Linked DNA regions of Homo sapiens: region 2 is linked to region 1. Evidence: promoter capture Hi-C in human tissues and cell types (Jung and others, 2019). All regions are on one chromosome and are shown on one strand. The core of a region is centred on a gene start or on the middle of the fragment in contact, and the rest is flanking DNA. Distances in the headings are between cores, read along the strand shown. Region 1 holds the start of STX2 (syntaxin 2). Region 2 has its middle 110 kb from the start of LINC02370.

Region 1 (5,398 bases), core at 539-3,038:
TGGACTATGACCATGCCACTGCACTCCAGTCTGGGAGACAGAATAAGACTCTGTCTCAAACAAACAAACAAACAAACAAAAAGTTTTGGTTGCCAATTCAACACCATCCAGCTGCTGCCAATATTATCATATGTTTTTGAAAAATCCACTGGGAGAGAGGGAGAAACGAGGGAGGGCCCAGTATTTACCAGAGAGGGAGAATTAAAATGGTGGTGGCAGAGGCAAGAAGGCCGAAAGAAAAGCACTTGCCTGTTGCGGGGTCCAGGAGGCATTCTGGTGGGGAAGTTCAGGATATGGAGAGAAAAAACATATCTTTTTTTTTTTTTTGGAGACGGAGTCTCGCTTTACTGTCCAGGCTGGAGTGCAGTGGTGCGATCTTGGCTCACTGCAAGCTCCACCTCCCGGGTTCAAGCAATTCTCATGCATCAGCCTCCTGAGTAGCTGGGATTACAGGTGCCCGCCACCACACTCACCTGGACAACTGGCTGTCAAGACCTTCCATCGGGTAACAGAACCACATCACACCTAGAACCAAGTCCAAAACGTCCTGTTTTTTAATGTGTAGCCTGTTGCTCTCAAGCAGATTTCTTAGCGCTGCCTTCTGGTCAGACCAAAGCCACCTCCTCCAGGAGGCAGTAAAGACTTTAACCTTGTTTAAAAACAAATCTGGCCTTGCCTTCTCCTCCTGGAAGGCAATCTTTGTTTGCCTGGGAGTCTTCGGCTAGCCAGAGAGTAACAGTGTGATTTATGGTGGGGGCTTAGGGTTACATGGATATCACTTAACCAAGAGGCTGAGATCAAGCATGAAAGCAATCAAACAATCAATCAATCATGCACATGCAATGGAGCCCAGTAAACGTTCTGCACACTGTGGCTCAAGTGAGCTTCCCTGGCTGGCAGTACTTCGTGTGTAAGGCCACACATCAGTGCAGGGCAAGTAATGAGGCCTGACTACACAGGGAGAGGACCACGGGAGGACCTTGAAGCTGCACGCCGTAATCCCCAGACTCCCCCTCTGCCCTTCTTCCTTGGCTGATGTTAATCCGTATCATTTTCCTGCTAAGAAACCATAGTTGTGAGTACAGTAGTTTTTAGTGTATTCTGTGATTCCTTCTAGCAAATTATGGAACTTGAAGGTGGTTTTGGAAACCGCCAGAATTTGCCGTTGGTGTCAGAGGTGATAATGGTCTTGGGGACTGTTCCCCCAACCTGGGTAGTTCACCTAAGCTCCTGCACCTTCATGACGACCTCTCTGCCAGTTCCGTGCCCATGCCCTTACTTTCTTTTCTCATCTATCATTTATTTGTCTGTGTCTGTATTGCCTGTTTCTCCTGCCAGAATGGTATCCCAGGGCTGGGCCTGCGGACGCTCTTCCCGTTACCGCCCCCTGCCGTGTTATGCTCCGTAAGCATCATGTGTGGTACACGATCTCTTCTCCTTCATTCACACCCGAGGCTGCGCGTGGACCCTTAAAGAGAAGGTTCGGCATATGTATTACCCAAAGCTGCACCCAGCACATTCCGGGAGCTTTGCTCTTTTGTCACTATTCGTTGAATGCTCTATATTTTGATAAATAAAACAATGAGTGTGAAAGCATAAAAGCAGATCAAGGGACAAACAGCACGTGTAGCGGAACTGCCAGCCTGGGGCTCGGCCGGACCCCGCCCCTCCCCGCCTAGGCCCCGCCCCCAGGCCCCGCCCCTCCGGGCTCCCGCTGGAAAGCGCTGCCGCCGTGTGGGTGGGTGCGGGGCGCGGCGCGGGCCGGGCATGCGCAGAGCGCGCGGGGCGCGGTTGCCGTGGCAGCGCCGGCTCCAGGGAGGGCTGCTGGCGCCGGGCCGGGACCGCGGGGCCTGAGGCGGAGACCGGAGAGCCCGAGGCCCGGCCGGAGGCAGCTCGGGACAGGCTTGAGCGGCGGGGCGCGCTGCCCGGCCGGCGGGGATGCGGGACCGGCTGCCAGACCTGACGGCGGTGAGCGGCAGCCGCGGGTAGCGGTTCAGGCCCGGCCGGGGCGGCGTCTGGAGGGCGGGCGGGGGCTCGGGGCGTCTTGGGCGGGGCTCCGGGAGGGTCCCCAGGGCGGGGATCTCCGGCGTTCTGGGGCGGGGGCTGCGGGCAGGGTCTCAGGGAGTCCTGAGCGGGGACTGCTGGTGGGGTCCCCAGGGCGGGGGTCCCGGGAGTCCTAGGGTGGGGGCTCCGGGCGGGGTCCCCAGGGCTTCCTGGGCGGAGTCCTCAGGGCGGGTTGGGGCAGGAGGAGGGAGCGGGGAAGGTCCCGGCCTCGACCCCCTCTTCGAGCGTGGCTCCCTGTCCGTCACTCCGCTTGGCGGATTGTATCTGGCGCTTACCCAGCCGGAGCCCACTGGCCTAACTGTGGTCCGCCCCACGGGGTCCCCGCAGCTGGCGTCAGCCCCGGGGAGCAGGCCGGGTCCTCTTGGTCGCTGCTTTATCCCTGGGGCTTCACAAAGGACTGTGCACCAAGCGGGAGGCAACAGATGGGTGTGAAATGTGGGCACCTTAGAGTGCTGGGTGCTTGGGGTGGGGCGAGCGCGAACAGCAGCTTGTGTCTGATCTCCCAGTAGTTTGCTTTGGAAACTGGGACCGTGTGTTGACTCTGAACGCACCTTACGCGCCCAGCAGCCGGGCACACAGCAAGTTACTGTTTACTTTAGCAAGGGAAAAGCAGGTCACTAAAAATTTTGGAAGGATTTCGATGCATTCTACACGTGTAAAGGTGACAGGACTGTGCATGGTGCAGTGACAGCGGAATGATAGTGATGGTCGTGCACTTTCCAAGCTTGTCTAACCCAGGACGGCTTAGGCCAGCAGAAGTAGTTATGACTTTTTCCCTTTACAATACAGGTACTAATTCATGCTACGTGTGTGCACAGATAGAGCCTCTGGTCTCTAAATTGTTGGCAGCCTCAGAACAGGGGTGCTAAGGCCCACAGCCCTACGACACCCACTGCATGTAATGAATTATTCTCTCTCCTCTGCTGCTAGAATGGAGCTGTTATGTACCCCCGAGTGGGAGAATAGAGAAAAGAGCCACTTAAATCATTATCTGTGTTCTGTGGTTCAGATGAGGAGCTCTGGTTGAGAAAGGCAATGATTTCATCCTTAGGATCATGGAAATTATGCTTTATATTCATTCCAAGGAAGTTTCTTCACGGTGATTTTTCCTTTTTTATTAATGGACAAATATTCCCTGTGTTCCGCAGATCAATATCATCTTAAACACAGCAAATTATAGTTGTGTTGTCTTGCCCGATGGATTATCTTTCAGTGCCGTGTAGTAGGAGCTCAGGTATTTATTTAATGAAGAAAAGCTGTGGCTCACTCCTGTAATCCCAGCAGTCTGGGAGATCAGGGTGGGGGCATCACTTGAGCCCAGGTATTGGAGACCAGCTTGGGCAACACAGGGAGACACTGTTTCTCGAAAAAAATTAAAAAATTAGCAGGAGGCCAGTCGCAGTGGCTCATGCCTGTAATCCCAGCACTTTGGGAGGCCGAGTTGGGTGGACCACTTGAGGTCAGGAGTTGGAGACTAGCCTGGCCAACATGGCAAAACCCCGTTTCTACTAAAATAGCCGGATGTCATGGCGCACACCTGTAGTCCCAGCTACTCTGGAGGCTGCGGCAGGAGCATCGCTTGAATCCAGGAGGCGGAGGTTGCAGAAAGCCGAGATTGTGCCACTGTACTCCAGTCTGGGCAACAGAAAGAGACTCTGTTTCAGAAAAACCAACAAAACAAAGCACGCACAAAAAAACTATCCAGGTGTGACTCGCACCTGTAGTCCTTGGTACTCAGGAGGCTAAGCTAGGAGGATTCCTTGAGCCCAGGAGATAGAGGCTGCAGTGAGCCATGATTGTGCCATGCCACTGCACTCCCGCCTGGGTGACAGAGTGAGACATTGTCTCATAAAAAAAAAAAAAAAAAGCTCAATGTCATTGAACGTGAGAGCTGTGACTATTTTGGCAAAATACAGCCAAATTTATATGTTGGGGAATCGTGAGAAAGTACGTTTTCTTGGCTTGAATAGCAAAAAGCAAATAAGGCAATTATTTGTCACTCAGTTTCTATATATCCAAACCCTTCCTGAAACAGTAGAACATGTCAATCAGTTTTGTTCTAGAACGGCAGAGCTAGAAGTCAGCTCATCTACTTCAATACCATCCTGCTTTAGACACAGCAGCTGAGCAGTCAGAGAGTATATCCGTGGAAGTTTCCACTCATGGAGTTTCTCATCTTGGGCAAATAATTTTTAAATCTCTCAAAACTTTTTCTTGTACGTGAAATGGGGACAGTGGTATCTCTCTTGTCCACCTCATAGAGGGAGTTATGAAGCATAAAATTATCTAATGTGTGAAGCTCTGGGAGAAGGTGGGAGGGAGCAAGTGCTATGTAATTATAAGTGTGATTAATGTTTACCAGATTTTTTGTTTTTAGGGAGTTATAAAAAGCAGCCTTCTGGCTGGGCACAGTGGCTTTCACTTGTAGTCCCAGCACTTTGGGAGGCTGAGGTGGGCAGATCATTTGAGCTCAGGAGTTCAAGACCAGCCTGGGCAACATGGCAAAACCCTGTCTTTACAAAAAACATACAAAAACTCAGCCAGGTGTAGTGGTGCATGCCTGTGGTTCCAGCTACTCAGGAGGCTGAGGTGGGAAGATTGCTTGAGTCCAGGAGGCGGAGGTTGCAGTGAGCCAAGATTTTGCCACTGCCCTCCAGCCTGGGCAACAGACAGATTGAGACCCTGTCTCAAAAAAAGAGAAAAGAACAACCTTCTCCCTAGTATAAAATAGTAAGTTAAAACTGAATTTGAAGTTTAATAACTTTTAATATTTAAAAACCCATCTTAAAGTTACCAGATACAAGTTTAATTCCCCTCCCCCGCCCCGCCCCAGGAAATGTGTCCTTTCCCAGTAGTTCTTAGAGTAGTTGAATGTGTACTCACAACCGTGCTTGTAAATGGCTGGTGTTTTTTTCTAGGTAAAGTTGAATATTTTGTTGGTTAAAATGCCTCATCAACAATGTCTGATTAACAAAGTATTTGTGATGCTTCCATGAAGTTTCTTTTCTTAGCTGCTGATGCTTGTTCCTGTGAAGAACGTGCCTCTGACAGTTACGTGGACAGGGCTTAAAGAGTAATCTGCTCAATACAATCTGTACTGACAGATGTAGTTTCTAACCAGTGATGCTGTTTTTGAGCAACCAGTCATTTGGGCATAGAAAGTTTGCGTGACTTGGTCCAGATCTCTGACACTCTAAATCCAGAAAGATATTTCTGATTTACAGAAAGTAAAAGACTCGCCCATCCAGCAGGTACTTGAATGTCAGGCCTCTAGCAGATCATGTGCTGGGTGCAGAGAGACACAGCAGTGAACTGAGCGTGGGTGGGGATGCAT
Region 2 (5,386 bases), core at 2,190-4,689, 620 kb before region 1:
TGCAGAAATCAGCGGGTCTCACAGATCTGCGTTAATTAGAAGCAATGGTGTCTGCAATCTAGTGAAATTGGTAGATGACAAAATATTGTTTATAAAGTGGTCCCATCTAGGTATAAACAAGGTTACGCCTATTACATTCTATGTGTGCCTTTTTAGAAGTGAGACTGTAAAAGATGGTAAAAATTCAATTCAATCCTAATTGTTCACAGTGATTTGTCCCTGATAATACAAATTTATAGGGTTTATTTTCTTTGCCTGTCATTATTTCCTGACCCCCTCCCCTTCCTGCCTTTATGAGTAATGAATGTGCATTACTTATGCAGTTAGACAAATAGGAGGCTTTAACACTTGGCTTTGTTTCCTGGCTGGCATCTTCCTCTCCGGGCACATCTCCTAGCAAGAACAGCTTCTGAATTTTCCCGTGTTTGTGAAATGCATGGACATTAGCTCTGCCTGGCACAGCCGAGAGCAAGGAAAAGTCAATCAGAAAAGCAGAGAAAAACAGACCCAAACACAACTTGAGTTCCAGAATATGGTGACACTCTGTGCACCCACACTTAGGTTCGCTCATTCACTCGTCCTGGTGGAAAAGATACCAGGAGATGAGTAATCTAAGAGCAGTCCATGGATGACGGAGGATTTATATTTGGCTTGAGAATAAATTAATTCCCTTTTTAATAATGATCTCCTCCCAGGAGAATGACATTTTTAAATGCCTGATTTGGCTAAATATTAAGAGTGGAGTCCTCAGTTCACGCTGATTAATGGAGAGGGCGGGGAGGAGCAGGGGTGGGTGGGGGCACACGGAGGGCACAGGTGGATGGGGCAGCCTGTCTCGGAGCAGAAATCCCATAGACGGCATCCCTGGGCCCTTCTGTGCCGCAGCAGGAACCAGTGCATGTAGGATGTCCCTGAACCATGGGCGCCGGGGCAGAGTCCTGAAAGTAACACCTTCATGGAATTCAATAAGAAAAATCTGAGCAGACTTCATGAAATCTGATTCAATGATCTATTCTCATCGTTAAAAGGGGGACTCCGATTTGGGGCAAGGCCAGGGGAACTTACTTTTCAGGATTAATTAAATAAGCCACGTGTATTTCTCCATGGAGACCTGCCCTGTCTAGCTGCACGCCGGTTAATCAGGGAATTGTCAGGACCTGCTCTTTGCTGCTCCTGGGTCAGATCCCCGCCCCGCTTTCCCTTGTCCCCATCCCCTCCTCCAGACTGCGGTCACCTACCCAGGCCAGGGTAGCGCTGGGGGGTAGGGGGAGCAGGTCCATGCTCTGTGGCTTTGTGAGAACACAGGCGGCAGGCGCCTCTTCGCATCCACGTTTCTCTCCCCATCGCTCCTCATGCCCTGCCTTTGATGGTGAAATGGAACTAGCTCAAACTCGGCTTCCTTCTGTGAAAACAGTGAAAAGGCACAGGCAAACAAGAATATGTGACCGTCACAGCGCAGCTGGGCTGACAGTCCTTCAAGTGGCTGGGAGTTCTTGTAAGGGAGGATAATTACATTTTCATTGTGTTAAAAAAGGAGGAAATGTGGAATACACCCACCATCACTGCTTGAATCTCCTGAAATTTCATTTCCTTCTGAAACTGTTGGGAGTCACAGGCAGGCCTGTGGCTGGACTCATGACACCCCCGTGGGTGGGTGGGTGAGAAGGTGCTCGGGGCCCTTCAGTGTGGGGTGAACAAAACCCCCAGACCCTCCACCAGCTTCTATCCAGGACTCAGACCCACAACTGCACATGAGGTGCTGAGCCTCGGGCGCATAACTGAATGCCTCCCCCATAAAGATGTCATTGGCGCGGAAAAAGATGAACCTCATTGAAGAGCGAGTTTCCAGCTCAGCAGCACCTGGGCTTTGTCCAGCCTGGGCCAGGGCGGAAGTGCGTTGAGGTACTTCCCGGCGTGAGTTTGGATTTGGGGACCCGAGGGACCCGTGGAAGGTGAGGAGATTCCGTGTCGGTGTCAGTCCTGGGACCTCCCTGTGCAGAGAGGCTCACGTGTTCCCACGCTCCCTCCTTCAGCGCGGTGGGTACCAGAGCCAGATCCGCAGGGAGGGCAGGGCTGAAGCCACGTGAGACGCCCCAAGCCGGGCGATCCAGCACCCGTCAACGTGAACGCCATTGAAGCCTAATTGTCAGTCATTAAACAGGACAAGACTGCCCAGGATCTCAACTGGATAATTCAAACAATTAGAATAACAAGGGTTTGTTTCGTCCTAACATTACTGAGCCGAAGAACAATATTTGTGGCATTAACTCTGAAAGTGTCTCGTTCTCAGGACTAAGCAGCGCAGCCTGTGACTAGCAAATACTTCACTGGACAAAACCCCACTCTTCCCTGTAGGACGGCCTCAGGGTCCTCGAGGGAGAGCCCACTCTGACCCCATACCCAGGACGTTCATTACGACACATAGGCAGCTTCTTCGGGATATAAAAAACATCACATTTTAATGACATAATCACCTCTCTTCATTATGTCATTAGCAAAAGCACCATAATTACACACTTAGAACCTGAAATCATCAATAGGGGCCCTGTTTTGTAATTTGAACTATAATTTATAATGGTGAACCCTCCACAGTTCCAGGCAACATGCAGAGAAGGTAATTTCTAGATAGATGACAAGCGGTGCCTTCAGCAGCCTGGGTAGTCACACTGTTCGATAGTAAGAAAGAGGTTTGGAGCCCTGGTGGGAAGCTTCAAGTTAAAGAAGCCAAGAAATTAAATAAACGGAAAGTAGATTTGAAATACACACGGCAAACTGGCAATTTGTCTTTGAGTGTTTTAAAATCACAAACAAGACACTCTGGTGTTTTTCAAAGACAAAGGTTGGGATTTCCCCTAACATTTAGAAACAGTTGGGAGCATGTATGTGAACTCATGTGTTGAAACTGCTCTGCATTCATTTAGGACTTTTATCTTCAAGTCACCTTCTGGAGGACTTGGGCGTGTGTTTGGAAACGTCCCTCTGGAGCCGCGTGGGAATCCTTAGGGTTCAGCCGCATAGGCGCTGGGGAGTCTGGAGCAAATAGCACCCACCGGTCTGGGTCCGCTCTTCCTTGCTGAGGGGCGTCTGGAGAAAGGAGGAGCCTACAGGTGGAGGGGGGGAGGTGGGGTCCTGCCTGTGCCTGGGGTCCTGCTGCCTCAGGGTCAGGACCCTGGGAACCCCACCCCGACCCACTGTGTCCTGCTCTGACTTTGCCCTTGGTGGCGGCGGTGGGGGCCGGGGGGGGGTCTCTCCATGGTTCTGCCAGGCTGGGAAATGCCTGCTCCGCATCTAGCTTCCTGCTACCCCCTCACCATCTTGGCTGTCAGCACTGCTCCAAGACCCAAATACTGGGGCTGTGGATGGAGAACCTGGCTGGAGGCAGTCAGGGCTCCGCTGTTCAGGGACTTAAGTAAGGGGACTGAGCTGGCCTGGGGTTGGTCGCACACTCACTGTGGCTGCACATTCCCGTTCTCTGCTTCCAGGGCAAGGAGAGGACCGTGCATCCTCAGTGACAGTGGTGCCTCACCATGCTTTAGAGAAGCCTGTCCTTGCCCCCGAGCTGCTCTCCATGGAGTCCTGTTTGCGCACCGGAGGTCCCTGTGAAGGAGCGTCCATCAGGTCTGGACGTGCACCTGACCTCGCTGACTGAGAACGTGGTGACTAAGGTGACTAATGCTCCATTACTTCTGCGTCTGATACCCAGGTCCATGCAGGCTTCTCTGGCCTCTGTCCTTGGATCCTTAAATTAATCCAAGGATGCAGCAGTTGGGGCCTCACTGGAGAACTCGTGTATTTACCACACAGGAGACTGAGGCAGGGAGTGGGTTACGGAGGGGACGGGAGAGCTGAGAAGTCAGATGGGGGCTGGGAGGCAACTCAGAGGCCAGGAGAGAAGGCGGCGGCTCCATCCCTGGGCTGGAGCGGGGTGGGTGGTGCTGGCGGAGCCCAGGGCTGGGGTCTCTGGGGAAGCTGGACCCACAGCAGCCTCGGTGTGCAGGAACGACGTGCGCAGCAGGCCGGAGGCTGCCTGATTCTGACGCGTGTTCATGGAGGCCCGTGTGCAGCGATGAGCCCCAGCCAGCATCCGGGTGATCCCCAGCCAGCATCCGGGTGATCCCCAGCCAGCATCCGGGTAATCCCCAGCCAGCATCCGGGTGATCCCCAGCCAGCATCCGGGAACTTGGCTTTTGGAACGTTTCCTGAGTGACTGGTTGACCAGGTCGTTTGTGCACTCAGGGAACTAAGCCGTTCCCTACCAGCTGCCTGGACTCTGCAGTGTGATCAGCGCACGCCTGACTTCTGTCACCACAGTGGCTGCACAGGCAGAGGGTGCCTATGTGACCAGCCCCCTGTAGAAGCCCCGCACTCGGAGACCTACACGGCCTCCCTGGGAAGCGACACTCTGGATGTGTTGCTGACTTGGTTGCTGGAGCAAGACGCGTGTTTGGTGGACTCCCCTGGGTCTTTCTCCCCTGCTGATCTTGCTACGTGGCCTTTCTCTGTAATAAGCCATGGAGTCCACTCTCTAATCACGCAGTGTGTGGTGGCCCCAGGACCCCTGAGACGTGGAGCTGGCAGGGAAGACAGGCAGCTGCCCGAGGCGCTTGAGGCAGAGAAGGATGGGGAATAGCCTGGCTCCTCCCCGCCCCCCATCACCCACCAGGGCCTCTCACTGTCTGAGCTCAGCCTGAGGCTAGCTGACCAGGGGTGTGGGAAGCCCAACTCTACAAATTCGCAGCAGATCAGCCCCCAACCCCCACAAATTCCCAGCAGATCAGGAAGGGCGGGGCATGGATGAAAGGGCATCAGGGCCACAGGCCCAGGACAGGCACGTGGGTTGCTCTTGGAGGCATTTGCAGGTACACTAAGAAGCTCCAGGAAGGACACACACACACACATATACACACACATACACATACATATGCACACACATACATACACAGACACACACACACACGTACACAGACACACAGACACACATACACACACACATTCCCCTGCCCTCCCATCTCCAGACCTTGCGGTCCCCATGAGCTTCCCGATTCCTGGCACTGCCGGGCTGTCCTGAAGGCTCTTTTGGCCAGAAATGGGCAGGGATCTGAGAGCACCTGCTGTCGGGTGAGTCCTACTGTACTCATGTCAGAGATTAGGACGAGAAGACACAGGAGTGAGCTGGGCTGGAGTCTCAGCTGCAGATGACAAGGAGAGCACAGTGGAAAGCCTGGCCCACCTCCCCTCCCCACTGGGCCCCTGGGTGGGATACCACCATTTCCAGAATGGGCTGTGGGTTGCGCGGGCTCCTGAGGTTCGCTGAACCGGGGCTCTGAGGGGTCCCCAAAGTGCTTCCTCCCTGTCCTGTGCCCCCACCCCATGGGGTGGAAGAGCC

Evidence for each region. The method cuts DNA at HindIII sites, captures the fragments that hold promoters and counts their contacts. A contact is called where the count stands out against the background at its distance.
Region 2: a fragment that was not itself captured here is called in contact with the fragment with the promoter of STX2 in region 1 in 1 of the 25 tissues and cell types used here (liver).

The regions. Positions count from the first base shown.
Region 1 is chr12:130,835,640-130,841,037 of GRCh38, reverse strand. It overlaps STX2 (syntaxin 2), which reads left to right and starts at 1,788. Exons shown (of 11, transcript NM_194356.4): 1 at 1,788-1,968. The coding sequence starts at 1,939. RefSeq lists silencers at 1,585-2,094, 2,165-2,224. The HindIII fragment of the contact is 30,414 bases long and covers 1-5,398 here.
Region 2 is chr12:131,455,718-131,461,103 of GRCh38, reverse strand. It overlaps a transcript of LOC101929974 not described here. Among named protein-coding and RNA genes, the nearest start is that of LINC02370, 110 kb to the right of the region's middle. The HindIII fragment of the contact is 5,120 bases long and covers 880-5,386 here.